2 separate regions of the Homo sapiens genome follow, and region 2 is linked to region 1. The links are contacts of gene promoters, found by promoter capture Hi-C in blood cells and fetal thymus (Javierre and others, 2016). All regions are on one chromosome and are shown on one strand. Each heading gives the region's core, a stretch centred on a gene start or on the middle of the fragment in contact. The rest is flanking DNA. Distances are from core to core; before and after follow the strand shown. Region 1 holds the start of SLC75A1 (solute carrier family 75 member 1). Region 2 overlaps FAM193A (family with sequence similarity 193 member A).

Region 1 (7,303 bases), core at 1,263-3,762:
CACACCTCATGAGATCACAGTGACCAGCCCTGCCCAGGCTGCCCTGGTACGTGCCTGAAGCATCGCGGAGGTCACATCTAGCCACGGTGACCGTGGTGAGATGTAAGGATTAACCAGACTACGACTGGGGAGGTGAGGAAGGTGACAAGGACCCAGTTCCAGCTTCTAACGGGGTGTGGGATCTTTGAGCAAGGAAGAAGATGCTAGGGAGAATGAGTCTGGCTTTGTTCTTGTTGGGAGGTGTTCAAGCCATGGCTGGACCAGAGCATGAGCCATCCTCAGTGTGAGAGGCAGTTACTGCCGCGGTTGGGCTGCCTGGTAGGCCTGGAGCTCAAAATGAGTCAGTCTCTCTCTGGAAAGCGCAAGACAGAGACAGCGCTGGTGGCAGCTGGGCTGAAGCCAGCAGCTTGGAGATGAGGCTCAGGCCCTGACGGGGGAAATCTTACCCAGCCTCCCCAGATGGCTCAGAGACAGGTCTGGCAGGTGCACGGATCCACAAATCTAGAAGAGTCTGGGGTTGTCACATCCACCAACTAGGCTGGCTGTCTATATACACTTTGTCACTGTGTAGGCCCAGGATTTCACCCATCTACAAATTTTCTCTGCCACACGGCTACTGCCACTTTAATTCACCAAGCCAAGCCTTTGCACTCAGGACCCTGGCCCAACCCTCTTTGGCCAAGCAAAGAGGAAACGAGAACAGGACAGAAAAAAAAGTGGGACCGGACCAGGCACCTGGCTGTCCATTGAGGCCTTGCTATGCGATCCAGGACGGAAGGTGCCGGCAGCAAGCTCATACACTCTAGCTGCGTGTCATGTCATTGAAGAGGGCGCGTGATCCAGCTGGAAGGGTGGATAAAAGTGTAACTGCCCAGTGGGTTCACCTTCCCTGTTACCTAGACAGCCAATTTATCAAGAAAGGGCATTTGCAACAGAGAAAAGGTAATTCACGCAGAGCTAGCTGTGTGGGAGACTGGAGTTTTATTATTACTCGGTCTCCCTGAGCATCTGGGGTTTGGAGTTTTTAAAGATAAGCTGGTGGGTGGGGGGCAGCCAGTGAGTCAGAAGTACCCATTGGTCAGGTCAGAGATGAAATCACAGGGAGTCGAAGCTGTTTTCGCACTGAGTCAGTTCCTGGGTGCCACAACATCAGATGAGCCTGGGTGGTGCCAGGTGACCCACCAAGTGCTGATCTTAGGCTTTACGATGGTGATGTTATCGCCAGGAGCAGTTTGGGGAGGGTCAGAATCCTGTAGCCTCCCGCTGCGTGACTCTTCAACCGTAGTTTCTAATCTTGTGGCTAATCTGTTGGTCCCACAAAAGCAGGCTAATCCCCAGGAAAGGTTTCCTTTGGGAAAGGGCTGTTATCATCTTTGTTTTAAACTAAGTTCCTCCCACAGTTCAACCTGCGTGCAGCAGTAAACAAGGAGGGCATGGAGGTTAGAAGCAAAATGGAGCTGGTTATCTCACTGTCGGCAAATTTTGCAATGGCAGTTTCATAGAGATGCCTGTCCTCTGGGAAAAAAGCTAATAACAGGTTGTCTTTTTGGCTGCAGGTGGAAAACTGCATCTATTAGGAAGAGGTGGGGCTTTGTTCTTACCCACAATTGGAAGTTCTCTATGGAGTAAAGGCGGTATGTGTGCCACCTGATTCCTTTCCCCATGTGTATCTGGTTAGGGTCGGCCACGTGAGATCCGCAAGCATTTTAGAAGGTGGGAGGGGAGGTGGGAGCTGGCTACAGGCCAGGCGTTGGCGTGGTTCCGTGAGTGTGCTCCAGCCAGGCCCAAAGCTTCTCCTGCCCAGAGGGACCGTTTCCTCCAGCGTGGGTCGGGTGCTTCTGCGCCCGGAAAGAGCGCCAGCTCCTCCTTCGGGTGACCCAGGGAGCGGGGCTGCAGGCAAAGGCGCAGGCGGCCAAAAAGGTGCCAACCGGGTCCTGTGGCTTTCAGTTGTCTCTGCCCACCCAATTCACACCATCTTTCCCCCTCAGCCGCCTGTCCTGGGACTTCAGGCTCAGCACCAAACGCAGCAAAAGTAGGTGCACAGAGAGCGGGGTCAGCTCACGCAGCCCGAGCAGAATGGCTGTGCTGCCGCCCCAGGCCCGCGGCCACCGCTGTGTGTGTGGCAGGAGTCAGCCCCCCAGCGTGGGGCCCCGAAGCCCGCGGTCCTTCCACGGGGAGGGCCAGGCCCGCAGGGCGCAGACGATGGGGGACAGGCTGCGCCAGCGCTCGCCTGAGGCCCCGCACACAAACCTCAGGCCCATGGGTCCGCTCCGCGGGGCAGGCGTCGTGGGCCCAAGGAGGCCAGGCCAGGAGTCTCGGCCTCGGGGTTACGCGGCGGCGGGCAGCTCTTCCGCTCCGCTCAGGGTGCTGCTAACCCACAGCCAAGCAGCGACCCGCAGGACCGGCGAGAACCCCGCCACTGACTCCGGCCGGAAGAGAACGTGCAGAGATGTACGTCACTTCCGGGGCGTGGCGTGGCCGGGCGTGGCCGTCCCGCCCCTGGCGGCGTGCCTGGTGCCCTGTTCCGCGTCTGTGCGACCGTCCGTCCCGAGCGCGCAGCCGCGGCAGGTGCGGGGCGGGACCGGGGGCGCCCGGGGTGGGGGGCGTAGGGGGCGCTCGGGTTGGGGGTGGGACAGGGGACGCGCGGGGTGGGGGAGGAGACGGGACCCGGGGTACGCGGGGGTGGGGCGGGTGAGAGGTGCGCAGGGTAGGGGAGTAGGGGGCGCGCGGGGTGTGGGGCTGGACCAGGGGCGCGCGGGGTGGGGGCGGTGGGAGGCGCGCGGCGTGGGGGTTAGAGGGCGCGCAGGGTGGGGGACGGGACCGGGGACGCGCAGGGTGGGGGGCGGGACCGGGGGCGCGCGGGGTGGGGGCGGGACCGGGACGCACGCGGGATGGCGGAGTGGGAGGCGCGCGGGGTTGGGGGTGCTCCTGCGTCCGGTGTGCACCCCATGGCCCCCGCCAGGGAGACCGAGTCCGGGCCAGGGGCCGGAATCGCGGGGCGCGGGCCGGGGCTGGGGTTGGGGTTGGGATCGGGATCGGGATCGGGATCGGGATCCGGGTTCCCCGCGGCTTCAAGTTTTCTCTCGCTGTTACGAGGGCGTGGGAGGCGCGGCCGTGGGGTGGGGTGGGGCCAGGTCCGCGATGTGCTCACCCTGGTCTCTCAGGACCGTTGCCTTTGCGGCTATTTTTTGTGCAATCCCCGAAGCCTGCGTTTCCTGCTGCCTGGGTTCGGGGCGGGGGCATCGCGCAGGCCAGAACGGCCCCTGCGTCCGTAGGCCAGAGCCCCTGCCATCAGCCCCTTTAGGGTGCTCGCCGGCTGTCGGGTGTGGGGGTATGCCAGGCCCCGGAGGACTCGGCTTCCCCGCTAACCCGACCCGCCGCACCCCACCCAGGCCAGGTCAGAGCAGCCCACCATGGGATGGGGAGGGGGTGGAGGCTGCACCCCGCGCCCACCCATCCACCAGCAGCCGCCGGAGCGCCGCGTGGTCACCGTTGTCTTTCTCGGCCTCCTGCTGGACCTCCTGGCCTTCACGCTGCTGCTGCCCCTGCTGCCCGGGCTGTTGGAGAGCCACGGCCGTGCCCACGTGAGTCCTTGCCCTGCGGCCCACAGTGCCCCCTGCCCCCCAGGCCCATCAGACCTCCCCAGCCCTTATCGTGATTCCTCATCCCCTAGGACCCCCTCTATGGCTCCTGGCAGGGCGGGGTGGACTGGTTTGCCACCGCCATCGGGATGCCAGTGGAGAAGAGGTACAACAGTGTCCTGTTCGGAGGTATGGCTGGCTCTGTGCCCTTGGCGGGCTCTCTACGGTCCTATGTTTGGTGGACGTGGTCCAGCCCAGGCCCCTCCCCAATTCTCGGTCCTTGCCTTCCCACTCCCTGGGCTGGCATGTCTGGTGCCCTTGCCCACATGTCCTGGCTTCTGGGCATGATCCCTTGCCTCCGCGTGTCACGTTCAGATCCTTCCTCATCTCTCCATTGGGGCCCCCTCGGCTCAAGGGCCATGGCCTGTGAGTGTAGGGCCCAGCATGACTGGACCCTCAGGACGGGGCTGGACATTGGCCTTGAGGGCCCCAAGACCACAGCTCATGGTGCCAGGCAGCCCCATGATGGTGACATCTGTCTCTCAGGTCTCATTGGCTCGGCATTCTCTGTCCTGCAGTTTCTGTGTGCGCCACTCACTGGGGCCACCTCTGACTGCTTGGGGAGGCGCCCGGTGATGCTGCTGTGCCTGGTATGTTCCTGGGCCTGGGTGCCCATGGGGAAGCCTCCTCCCACCCAGCCAGTAGCCCCATGGGGTTAGGTGGGGAGAGGGAGGTGGCTGTGGGCCCCTCATGGCCACTGGTTGGCCCTCATCGCATCCTGGAGGGGGTTCTCGGGGGACCAGTGGCTCCTGTTCCAGAGCCAGGCTTTCAAGGAGCTGCTCCTGGCCCCTAGGAAGGCACTGAGAACGCAAGTGGCCCTCAGATGCTTCGAAATAGGGCAGGGTTGAGGGGTGTTGTCTGGGTTGCCAAGCCCTACTCTGAGCCACTCCTGGCCTTAAGCGACCGCCCCTGCCTCTTGGCCCCTGCCCCTGGGCAGATGGGTGTGGCCACCTCATATGCAGTCTGGGCCACCTCTCGGAGCTTTGCGGCCTTCCTGGCCTCCAGGCTGATTGGGGGCATCAGCAAAGGGAACGTCAGCCTCTCCACGGCCATCGTTGCTGACCTGGGCTCGCCTCTGGCCCGCAGTCAAGGCATGGTAAGTGCACAGGCTGGGCCTTTGGGGTCCTGGTGGTGACTTCTGGGCCTGGGTCTCCCTGTGCAGCTCGGGTGGTCTTTTCCCTAGGCGGTCATTGGGGTGGCCTTCTCACTGGGCTTCACCCTGGGCCCTATGCTCGGAGCCTCCCTGCCCCTGGAAATGGCACCCTGGTTTGCCCTGCTCTTCGCAGCCTCCGACCTGCTGTTCATCTTCTGCTTCCTGCCAGAGACGCTGCCCCTGGAGAAACGGGTAGGGCTGTGGTCTGGGACCCACAGGCCTAGGGGCTGGAGGCTTGATTCCATAGCGATGTAAAGTGCCCCTGTGTGCCAGCCCCAGATGCCAGGGAGGCTGGGCCGCTCTCTTGGTGTTGGGACCCTTGAGGCCACAGTCCGTGGGTTGCCAGGCCAGCAGCCGCTCCTGCAGGCTCTCCAATGCCATCCCCACAGGCGCCCTCTATCGCCCTGGGGTTCCGTGATGCGGCTGATCTGCTCAGCCCCCTGGCCCTGCTGCGCTTCTCGGCTGTCGCTCGTGGCCAGGACCCACCCTCTGGAGACAGTAAGGACTCGACCAACCCAAGCGTGGAGCCTGCTCTCCCCTGGGCTTCCCCGGGCGGCGCCCTTCCCTGCTGTGGTCGCCTTCTCAGCACGCGCCACCTCTCCCCAGGGCTCAGCAGCCTGCGCCGCCTGGGCCTAGTCTACTTCCTCTACCTCTTCCTGTTCTCGGGCCTGGAGTACACGCTGAGCTTCCTCACACACCAGCGCTTCCAGTTCAGTAGGTGGGTCCCCATCTGGCGACGGCCTGCTGTCTCCCTGAAATAACGCCCCTGCTTCAGGGAAGCAACCCCCATCCCCAGGAAGCCTTGGCAGCCACTCTCGCCCTGGCCCTGCCCTGGGTGGCCCTGCCCCGGGTGCCCTGCACTAACACACCCGCTCCCAGCCTACAGCAGGGGAAGATGTTTTTCCTCATCGGCCTCACCATGGCCACCATCCAGGGTGCCTATGCCCGGCGGATCCACCCTGGCGGGGAAGTTGCTGCCGTGAAGCGGGTAGGGGGCTCCCTCCAAAGCGGGTGGCAGGCAGTCCCCTGAGTCCTGCAGGGCACGGGCTGTGCTGAGGCTGCCGTGCCCACCTGCAGGCCCTCCTGCTGCTGGTGCCCGCCTTCCTCCTCATCGGCTGGGGACGTTCTCTGCCCGTGCTGGGCCTGGGGCTGCTGCTCTACTCCTTTGGTGAGTGGCCCTGCCCTGGCAGGGGATCCGATGGGCAGCAGGGGCTGGGTGATGCACCCTCCCCTGGGCTGACGGGCACCTCCTCGATGTCTCCCACCAGCCGCCGCCGTTGTGGTGCCCTGCCTGTCCTCCGTGGTCGCTGGCTATGGTGAGCCCCCTTCCCTCGGCCGAAGCCACCTGAGCGGGAGAAGGGCAGTGGTGCCTGACTGTGCCTCTTCCCACAGGCTCACCAGGGCAGAAGGGCACGGTCATGGGTACACTGCGCAGCCTAGGTGCTCTGGCCAGGGCCGCGGGGCCCCTGGTGGCCGCTTCAGGTGAGGGCGCGGGATGGTGCTGGGGCAGGCTGGGGGCCAAGCACCTGCCCTCGCCTCCCAAGTGCCAGCCCCCTCGGGGACTGGGTGACGCCACCGTCTCTCCGCAGTGTACTGGCTGGCCGGGGCCCAGGCCTGCTTCACCACGTGGTCCGGGCTCTTTTTGCTCCCCTTCTTCCTCCTGCAGAAGCTGAGTTACCCGGCACAGACGCTCAAGGCTGAGTAGCTGAGCCACTGTGCCCAGGCTGTGGGCACCAGGCAGAGTGGGAGCCTAGGTCAGGCCCCTGCCCACTGCCTGACCCCCACCCCCCGCCAGTCCAGGGAGACCCTGTGGGTGGGGGCCGGCCCCTAAGCAGGAAGCTCAGGCAGCTCCTCCAGACTTACTTACTCCTTCAGTGACTCCGAGCTGCAGCACTCCAAGGCTGTCAGGGCTTCTGTTTGTTTTTTAAACTATGCACCAGGTTTCTGATGATGAAATAAAGCACCTGTTTGTTTTATACCAAGTGCCTTTCGCCATATATAGCCGTGCTTCTACCCACACCAGGAAAGGCAGCTGGAGCTGAATGAATGGCTCCACTGACCGGAAGGGTCCAAGGCTCTTTGAGACCCTCAGTTTCCCCCTCTGCACAGTGGCAGCCTGGGGACTCACTCAGGCAGGCTCCTCCAAGGCTGGGGTCAGCCCTGGCCAGGTGGTATCTGGCAGTGTGCCCCGCACCCTGGCAGGATGTCCCCAGCACAGAGCCCTCCCCATCAAACATGAGCACACAGTGACAGTGAGACTGGGACCATGGGGACAAGGACAGGCCAGCAGTTCCCTGGACACCCTGAGTTCCCGTGGAGAGGGACACCAGGAGTGCTGGGTGGCACGTCCTGCCGCACGCGTGGCTGCAGGTGACATTTTATCAAGACATGAACATTAGGAGGTCTCTTTTCAGCACGAGACAAACATGGGAACAAAGAAATTAAAATATAAAACTGCTTCCCAGATTTAGACAAGGAACTTGCTGAAAGAATTTTATTTGTGAGTAAA
Region 2 (7,303 bases), core at 3,067-5,566, 270 kb after region 1:
CCATATATAGATCTCTAATTTCCTAAGAAAAGGCCAAAAGCCCGGGAAAATAATCAATTTTTAACCAAAGGGGCCCCACAGTCTTTAGTAATAATCAATTTTACTATCTTACTTATTTTTCGGAACTAATTCTTGAATAGCTTCCAGCAGCAAAAACATCTAACAGAATATTATCTTTTCTTGGAACTAGGTAATAGAGCTCTCTTCAGGCTACAGCAGGGAGTGGAAACCTTCCTCACTTTACACCCAGAGAAAATCAGGCTACAAACCAGGCGGACCATGAAGATAGCCTGGTTCTGACTACATACCTGAAAAATGTTATTAAAAAGCATTCTATTATTAAGACATCATTAAAAGTTCAAACTGAGCAATATTCAATCTAACAAAATTTAAGCATGAATTTGGATGGTTGTGCCAAGTAATTACAATAGATGTGGCAAACTTATTACACTCTATTCTAAACCTGTGTCTGTTAATCTTCCACCTACGCCTCTCCCTAGCAAAGAGACAACAAACCTCACTTATGGGCTACATGTACCCCACTTCACAGTGACCCCTAGAGGGGAGAAAACACACATGTGTTTGGAAAAACTGTGGTCTGGAAAAAATCATTCCATGTCATGTCCTCCTCCCTTTCTGTTCCAGCTCAAAAGCAATGTTTTAAATAATAAATTAGGGTTTGAAATAAATTATATTTTTGACTGATTAGAGCTACCTTTGGACAAGAATAACTGGTACAAAGAAAAAAAAGAAAACAATCAGAATTACGGTGAGTCATTCTGGTAAAGTTAAGCTCAAAATAACTAGAGAGGCAAAGCTATCTAAGGTCCAAAGAAAGAAACCAGCCTAAGAATTTCACTGTAAAGTCTAAGATACTAAGTATACACATGAGGTTCTCTGGGAAGAAATGCATAAAAATCAACTTATTTCTACATCCTCACTCCACTTCCTGAATGGGCTCTTCACACTGGGTTTCTGGCAGCTTCTCCTTTCTGTACCCTCCCCTCCCCAGTGCTCCATCACCTGCAGGGCGTTATAGTTTTCTGTGGCATCACACTTAGGGCTCTTCCTTTATTTAGGCTCGTGTATTTCTAAATGCTAAAGCAGCATAGACATTTTAGACCCTGTAGAGTCCAGCCAGTGTTAGAGGACTCATGTTGTATTCACATTATTTTACCTATCAAATTAAGAAGAAGAGCAAGCCCTGGAAGATCACAAGTAGATTACTGGTCTCCTGTGGAAATATTCCCTAGGTTTAACCTGTTAGAAATAGCACCTGAAAAATCCTTCTGTTCTATTTAATTCTGAATAAAAGAACTATGACCTTCACAGTTGTTTTTAATGATTGTTACAACTGTAAAGGTTCACAATTACAGTGCTTAAGAGATTATGGTGAAAGGAAACACTTGGAGACCTTCCTATCCAGAGCAGATGCTATCCTATGCAAGTTGCTAATTCACAGATTTCTTTGTTTGACTATGTACTCCTGTAGGATCTCAGTGAAGAGTGAGCTTTCAGACCCTTTTTGCCCTGACTTACCTTACTGTGTGTGAAGGGGGGCGTTGCATACAAGGTGGGGTGGATGAGAGGGCGTGGCAGGTGTGGAACAGTGTGCAAAGGCACATGTCCATGGATGTGAGGGTAAAGGTGCAGTGCAGGGTGTGTGGGCTTCTCTGGGCTCAAGAACTGATGGCCAGGAGGAAGGGCTCCGGCTGTCATTGCAGATGGTGTCAGTCCAGAAGCTTCCTGCTTACAAACATGACATTCACAAGTGTTTGGAGCTTGTTCAGCCTAAGAGGAAAGAAAAAAAACATACCTATTTAGTGAAACAATAAATGGTATGAATTAAAGTCAGTCACATTCTGCCAAGTAGTTACAAAGCAAATACAAAGGTAAGTGGGCTTTTCCTGACACCCTGAGTTGACCAGGGCCTTCCATGCAAGGAAAACGAGGGACCCCAAGAGACTGAGACTGAAGAAGACGCACAGAGAAGAAAGGTGTACCTCATTCCACAGACAGACTCAGGTAGAGCCACTGGTTCTGAATCCTATGCCTATGCAGAAAATCTCTCTTCCCACATGTGAGCAGGGACAAGGGAACTAGTGAAGACGACAGAGTAGAGAGGGGATGGCTGTGCTCCACTGGGCTCACACTGCTTCTAAGTAGTCACACATGGATTCTCCAAAACAAAGCAGAGACGCGACTTCCGGTTACGGTGGAGTGAAGAGGTCAGTGGCTCCTTTCCCTCAGGGCAAATGTAAAACTGAACACAATTGTCAAAGGCAACCATTCTGAGGCTCTGGAAATCAGCCCAAGGAAAATACCGCGACACATTTATTCATGCAAATCAGCTAGAACTTCAAGGAAGAACAGCAAGTCTGGCTTTCTTGTCTGGGACTCTTTCCATTTCCTGCACCTGTACTCCACCCCTGACTCGGTCGGCAGTGGGCACAGGAGTTCTGTGACTGCAGGGATGTCAGCGCAAACCAACCCTGCTACCAAAAACAGCAGCCTGGTCAGGCAGAGGGTGAAGCAGTAAAAGCAGTGAACTTAGAAGGGAATGAATAGGGAAGCCTGCAGCTCTGTTCCCTTGAGACTGAGGTCCCAACTGGGGTGAGTGGCAAAGGAGACAGAAATCTAACAGAGAGAACCCTGGAAATGAGAGCGCCACGGAAGGGCTTCTTAAGCTGTCCACAACTCGCTGGCTGACCAGGAGAGCACAGTGCATGCACTGAGGACACCTCACGGGCTGGAGGAAGGGGCCAACACAGCTGACTTGAGAACTGGCTGAGTGCTGAGCGCATTCACCCCACAGCCAACAATGGAGCCCCTGTGGATTCAAGGTGCATGGGCAACCTCTGCCCAAATCATCAGCTGGCCAATCAGCCAGGTGGACAAAGGGCAGACCTCTAGAAGCCAAACTAAAAAGGAGAAGAGAAGAAGTAAGCTGAGACACCCACAGCCACATAATGTGGGAGATACAGGTCCTGCAACTGAAGCCCAGGAAATAACAAAAACAAGGAAACAAACAAAAGACAACAAAGGACCCTCAAGGGAAAAAATGATAATGCAAAATTATCACATTATTTAAAATGTCCAATTTTCAACAAAAAATTATGAGACAAGCAAAGATTAAAGAGAAGTATGACCTAGGCTGGGCGCAGTGGCTCACACCTGTAATCCCAACACTTTGGGAGGCAGAGGTGGGAAGATCACTTGAGCCCAAGAGTTCAAGCCTAGTCTGGGCAACATGGCAAAACCCTGTCTCTACAAAAAGTACAAAAACTATCCAGGCATGGTGGTGTGTGCCTGTAGTCCCAAGTACTTGGGGGGCTGAGGTGGGAGGATTGTTTGAGCCCAGGAGGTCCAGGCTCGAGGCTCCAGTGAGCTGTAATCATGCCACTGCACTTCAGCCTGGGTGGCAGAGCAAGACCTTGTCTGGAAAAAAAAAAGTGTGACCCACATGCAGGAAATAAATAGTCAAACGGTTAACAGGAGTGAGTTCAGATACTAAATTAGCACACAAAGATGTCAAAGCAGCTGTTATAACATGTTCAGAGAATTAAAGGAAAATATGAAAATAAAGATTCAACATATAGGGAATTACTACAAAAAAAGAGAAACAAAAAAACAGTAAAATATAAATTCTATAGGTGAAGAGTACAATAGCTAAACCAAAATTTCACTAAAGGGGCTCAAAAGCAAACTTAAAATGGCAGAAAAATCATCTGTGAACTTGAAGAAGAGCAATGGAACTGATCTAGGAAGAGAGAGAAGAGATGAGGGGAAAGTATGCAGACGCTCAGAGGCCTGTGGGAGAGCAGCCAGCACTCCAGCATGTGCAGAACCAAGTCCCAGAGGAAAGGGGGAAGAGCATCCAAATAACACCTGGACACTCCACTTCCCAAATGTGATGAGAAACATTGGTCTACAGATCCAAGAAGCTCAGTGAACCTTAAGATGGATAAAAACAAAGAGATACTGAGAGCTGCAGAACTCTGGCACACAATGACCACCTAAGGCTTCCTGCAGCCAAAGGCCAAGTCCCTAGGATGACCCCAGACCCTACTAAAACACCTTCTTGAGAAAGCCAGGCTGCCAGGAGAACTGACTGCTTGTTCTAACAGTCTGACAGCTGATGACTGTAACAAGAGTAACACTCTGGTGTGGAATTTGATAGTGGGAAGGCTGTGTGTGGGGACCCTGGGTATAGGGTGTCTCTGTAGCTCTCACTCAACTTTGCTGTGAGTCTAAAGCTATTCCTAAAAACAACCACTCTATTTATTATTTATTTATTTATTGTTGAGACGGAGTCTCACTTCTCGCCTAGGCTGGAGCGCAATGGCGCGATCTTGTCTCACTGCAACCTCTGCCTCCCGGGTTCAAGCAATTCTCATGCCTCAGCCTCCCAAGTAGCTGGGATGACAAGCACATGATAGCACGCCTGGCTAATTTTTGTATTTTTAGAAGAGATGGGGTTTCACCACGTTGGCTAGGCTGGTCTCGAACTCCTGACCTCAGGTGATCTGCCCGCCTCTGCCTCCCAAAGTGCTGGGCGTGAGACACCCCCATGCCTGGTCTATTTTTTAAAATGAAGGCAAAATAAAGACATTTACACAAAAACAGAATTAACTGCTAGCAAACTGGTCCTGTAAGACATATTAAAGGAAGGTAAAAACAAGACGGTAACTTAAATTCGGCAGAATTTAAAATGAAGAATGCCAGAAATGACTAGCCAGCTAGCAAATAGAAAACACTGTATAAATACAGGCCAGGCGTGGTAGCTCATGCCTGTAATCCCAGCACTTTGGGAGGCCAAGGCGGGTAGGTCACCTGAAGTCAGGAGTTTGAGACCAGCCTGGCCAACATGGCGAAATGTCATCTCCACCAAAAATACAAAAATTAGCCGGGTGCCATGGTGCTTGCCTGTGATCCCAGCTACTCAGGTGGCTGAGGCAGGAGAACTGCTTGAACCTGGGAGGTGGAGGTTGAAGTGAGCCAAAATTGTGCCACTGCACTCTAGCCTGGACAACAGAGTGTGACTCTGTCTCAAAAAAAGGAAAAGAAAAAGGAAAAGAAAAGGAAAAGGAAAAGAGAAAGAGAGAGAGAGAGAAAGAGAGAGAGAGGAAAAGGAAAAGAAAGAAAAGAAGGCAGGCAGGCAGGCACTGTATAAATACATTTTTCTCTTTTATTTGCTCTAGAAATTATAAAGCTGTATAAAGCAGTAATTAAAACATATTATTGGTTTGTAACATATACAAATGTAATTATATATAGGACAATAATAGTACAAAGGAGAAAGAAGGAAATGGAGCTCCTGCGGAGCAAAGTTTGTATATTTTACTGGAATTAAGTCAGTAGTAATCTGGAGTAGATTGTGATAAATTAAGATGCATATTGTGGGCGGGCGTGGTGGCTCACACCTGTAATCTCAGCACTTTGGGAGGCTGAGGTAGGTGGATCACTTGAGGCCAGTTAGAGACCAGCCTGGCCAAAGTGGCAAAACATTGTCTCTACTAAAAATACAAAAATTAGATGGGCGTGGTGGTGCGCATCTGTAATCCCAGCTACTTGGGAGGCTGAGGCAGGAGAATCACTTGAACCTGGGAAGCAGAGGTTGCAGTGAGCCAAGATTGCGCCACTGCACTCCAGCCTGGGTGACAGAGCGAGACTCTGTATCAAAAAAAAAAAAAAAAAAGATGCATATTGTGGCTGGGTACACTGGTTAAGTGTAATCTTAGCACTTTGGGATTTCCTGGCGGGAGAATCACTGAAGGCCAGGAGTTTGAGACAAACTTGGGCAACACAGGGAGACCTTGTCTCTACTAAAATTAAAAAACTTAGCCGGTCATGGCGGCACATGCCTATAGTCCCAGCTTACTAAGGAGGCTGAGGCAGGAAGACTGCTTGAGCCCAGGAGCTTGAGGTTGCAGTGAGGCATGATGATGCCACCCCACTCCAGCTTGTGTAACAGAGCAAGACCCTGTCTCTAAGAAAAAAAGAGATACATATTGTATTTTAATTTTTGTTTCTTTTTATTTTTTATAACGACATTCACAAGAGATGCATACTGTAACCCTACAGCAGCCACTAAGAAAATTAAAAAAAGAATCAACAGAAGAATTAAAATAGTACACTAAAATTTTTGTTTAATATTTAAAAAGGCAGATACTGACATATACAGGATAAAAATGCAAGGCCCAACTAAAAGATGTTAGACAAATTTTAGATTCAAAGACACAAAGAAACTGAAAGTAAAAGGATGAAAAAATACATGTACACAGTAACCCAAGAAGGTGGAGTGGCTATACTAACAAATAAAACGGACGTTAAGAAACACCAGTAGTCAAACATTTCATAATGATAAAAGGGGCAATATATCAGGGGAGCTATAACAATAATTCAATAACATCACCCCCAAATGCATGAACCAAAACAAGGAAGAATTGAAAGGAGAAGGAAATAATCCAACAGTTAAACTTGAAGGCTTCAATATGCCTCTCTCAGTAACCGATAAAACCACCAGACAGATAATCAGTAAGAATATATACTATGATCTGAGTATCTGTGCCCCTCCAAAATTCATATGTTGATAGCCTAACCTCCAAAGTGATGGTATTAGGCGATAAGGACTTTGGAAGGCTCTACTCTCAGGAATGGGGTTACTGTCCTTACATGGTAGCCTGGATAGACCAAGACAATACAGAAGACTTGAAGAATGCCATCAACCAATTTGATCAAACTTTCATTTCTTGAACACTCCACACAACAAGAACAAAGTTCAAATTATTTTCAAGTACACATAGAACAGGATCTAGGTAAACTATATGTTAGGCCATCAACAAGTCTCAATAAATTTGGAAGCTCTAAAATCAGTCATCTAAGCTTTTGTTTCAACAAACTAGAAAAGGAAGAGCAAGCAAAACCCAAAGAACATAGAAAGAAATAATCAATTTCAGAATGGAAACCAATGACACAGAAACGAAAACAGAGAAATTGACAAATCTTTAGCCCAAGTGACTGAAGCCGTTAAAAGGAAGATAAAATTACCCAAATCAAGAATTAGCATCACTGCAGGCACTGCAGAATTAAAAAGGATTATAACAGTATAGAATAACTTTATGCCAACACATTAGACAATTTAAATGAGTAAATTCCTACAAAGACAAAAATTATTGAAATTCACTCAGTAAGAAATAGGAAATTTGAAAAGACCTATTACAAGCAAATGAAACTTGAATTAGTAATTACAGATCTTCCCACAAAAAGAGACCAGGCCTACAGGATTTTGCTGGTGAATTCT

Evidence for each region. The method cuts DNA at HindIII sites, captures the fragments that hold promoters and counts their contacts. A CHiCAGO score of 5 or more calls a contact.
Region 2: a fragment that was not itself captured here is called in contact with the fragment with the promoter of SLC75A1 in region 1 in 1 of 17 cell types (total B cells); the score reaches 5.8 in total B cells.

The regions. Positions count from the first base shown.
Region 1 is chr4:2,930,034-2,937,336 of GRCh38, reverse strand. It overlaps SLC75A1 (solute carrier family 75 member 1), which reads left to right and starts at 2,512. Exons shown (of 13, transcript NM_001146069.2): 1 at 2,512-2,568; 2 at 3,393-3,584; 3 at 3,674-3,770; 4 at 4,128-4,231; 5 at 4,579-4,737; 6 at 4,825-4,986; 7 at 5,184-5,292; 8 at 5,401-5,512; 9 at 5,674-5,782; 10 at 5,872-5,962; 11 at 6,063-6,110; 12 at 6,187-6,276; 13 at 6,384-6,770. The coding sequence starts at 3,414. The coding sequence ends at 6,499. NOP14-AS1 (NOP14 antisense RNA 1) reads right to left here and starts at 1,791. Exons shown (of 4, transcript NR_015453.2): 1 at 1-1,791. ADD1 (adducin 1) reads right to left here. Exons shown (of 16, transcript NM_001354761.2): 16 at 7,275-7,303. RefSeq lists enhancers at 433-672, 475-1,674, 2,932-3,799, 3,892-4,021, 4,042-4,271 and 2 more and silencers at 2,063-2,172, 2,333-2,642, 2,872-3,091. The HindIII fragment of the contact is 5,918 bases long and covers 1,793-7,303 here.
Region 2 is chr4:2,666,609-2,673,911 of GRCh38, reverse strand. It overlaps FAM193A (family with sequence similarity 193 member A), which reads right to left. Exons shown (of 21, transcript NM_001366318.2): 13 at 1,540-1,791. Among named protein-coding and RNA genes, the nearest start is that of TNIP2, 86 kb to the left of the region's middle. RefSeq lists an enhancer at 2,160-2,704. The HindIII fragment of the contact is 5,143 bases long and covers 1,745-6,887 here.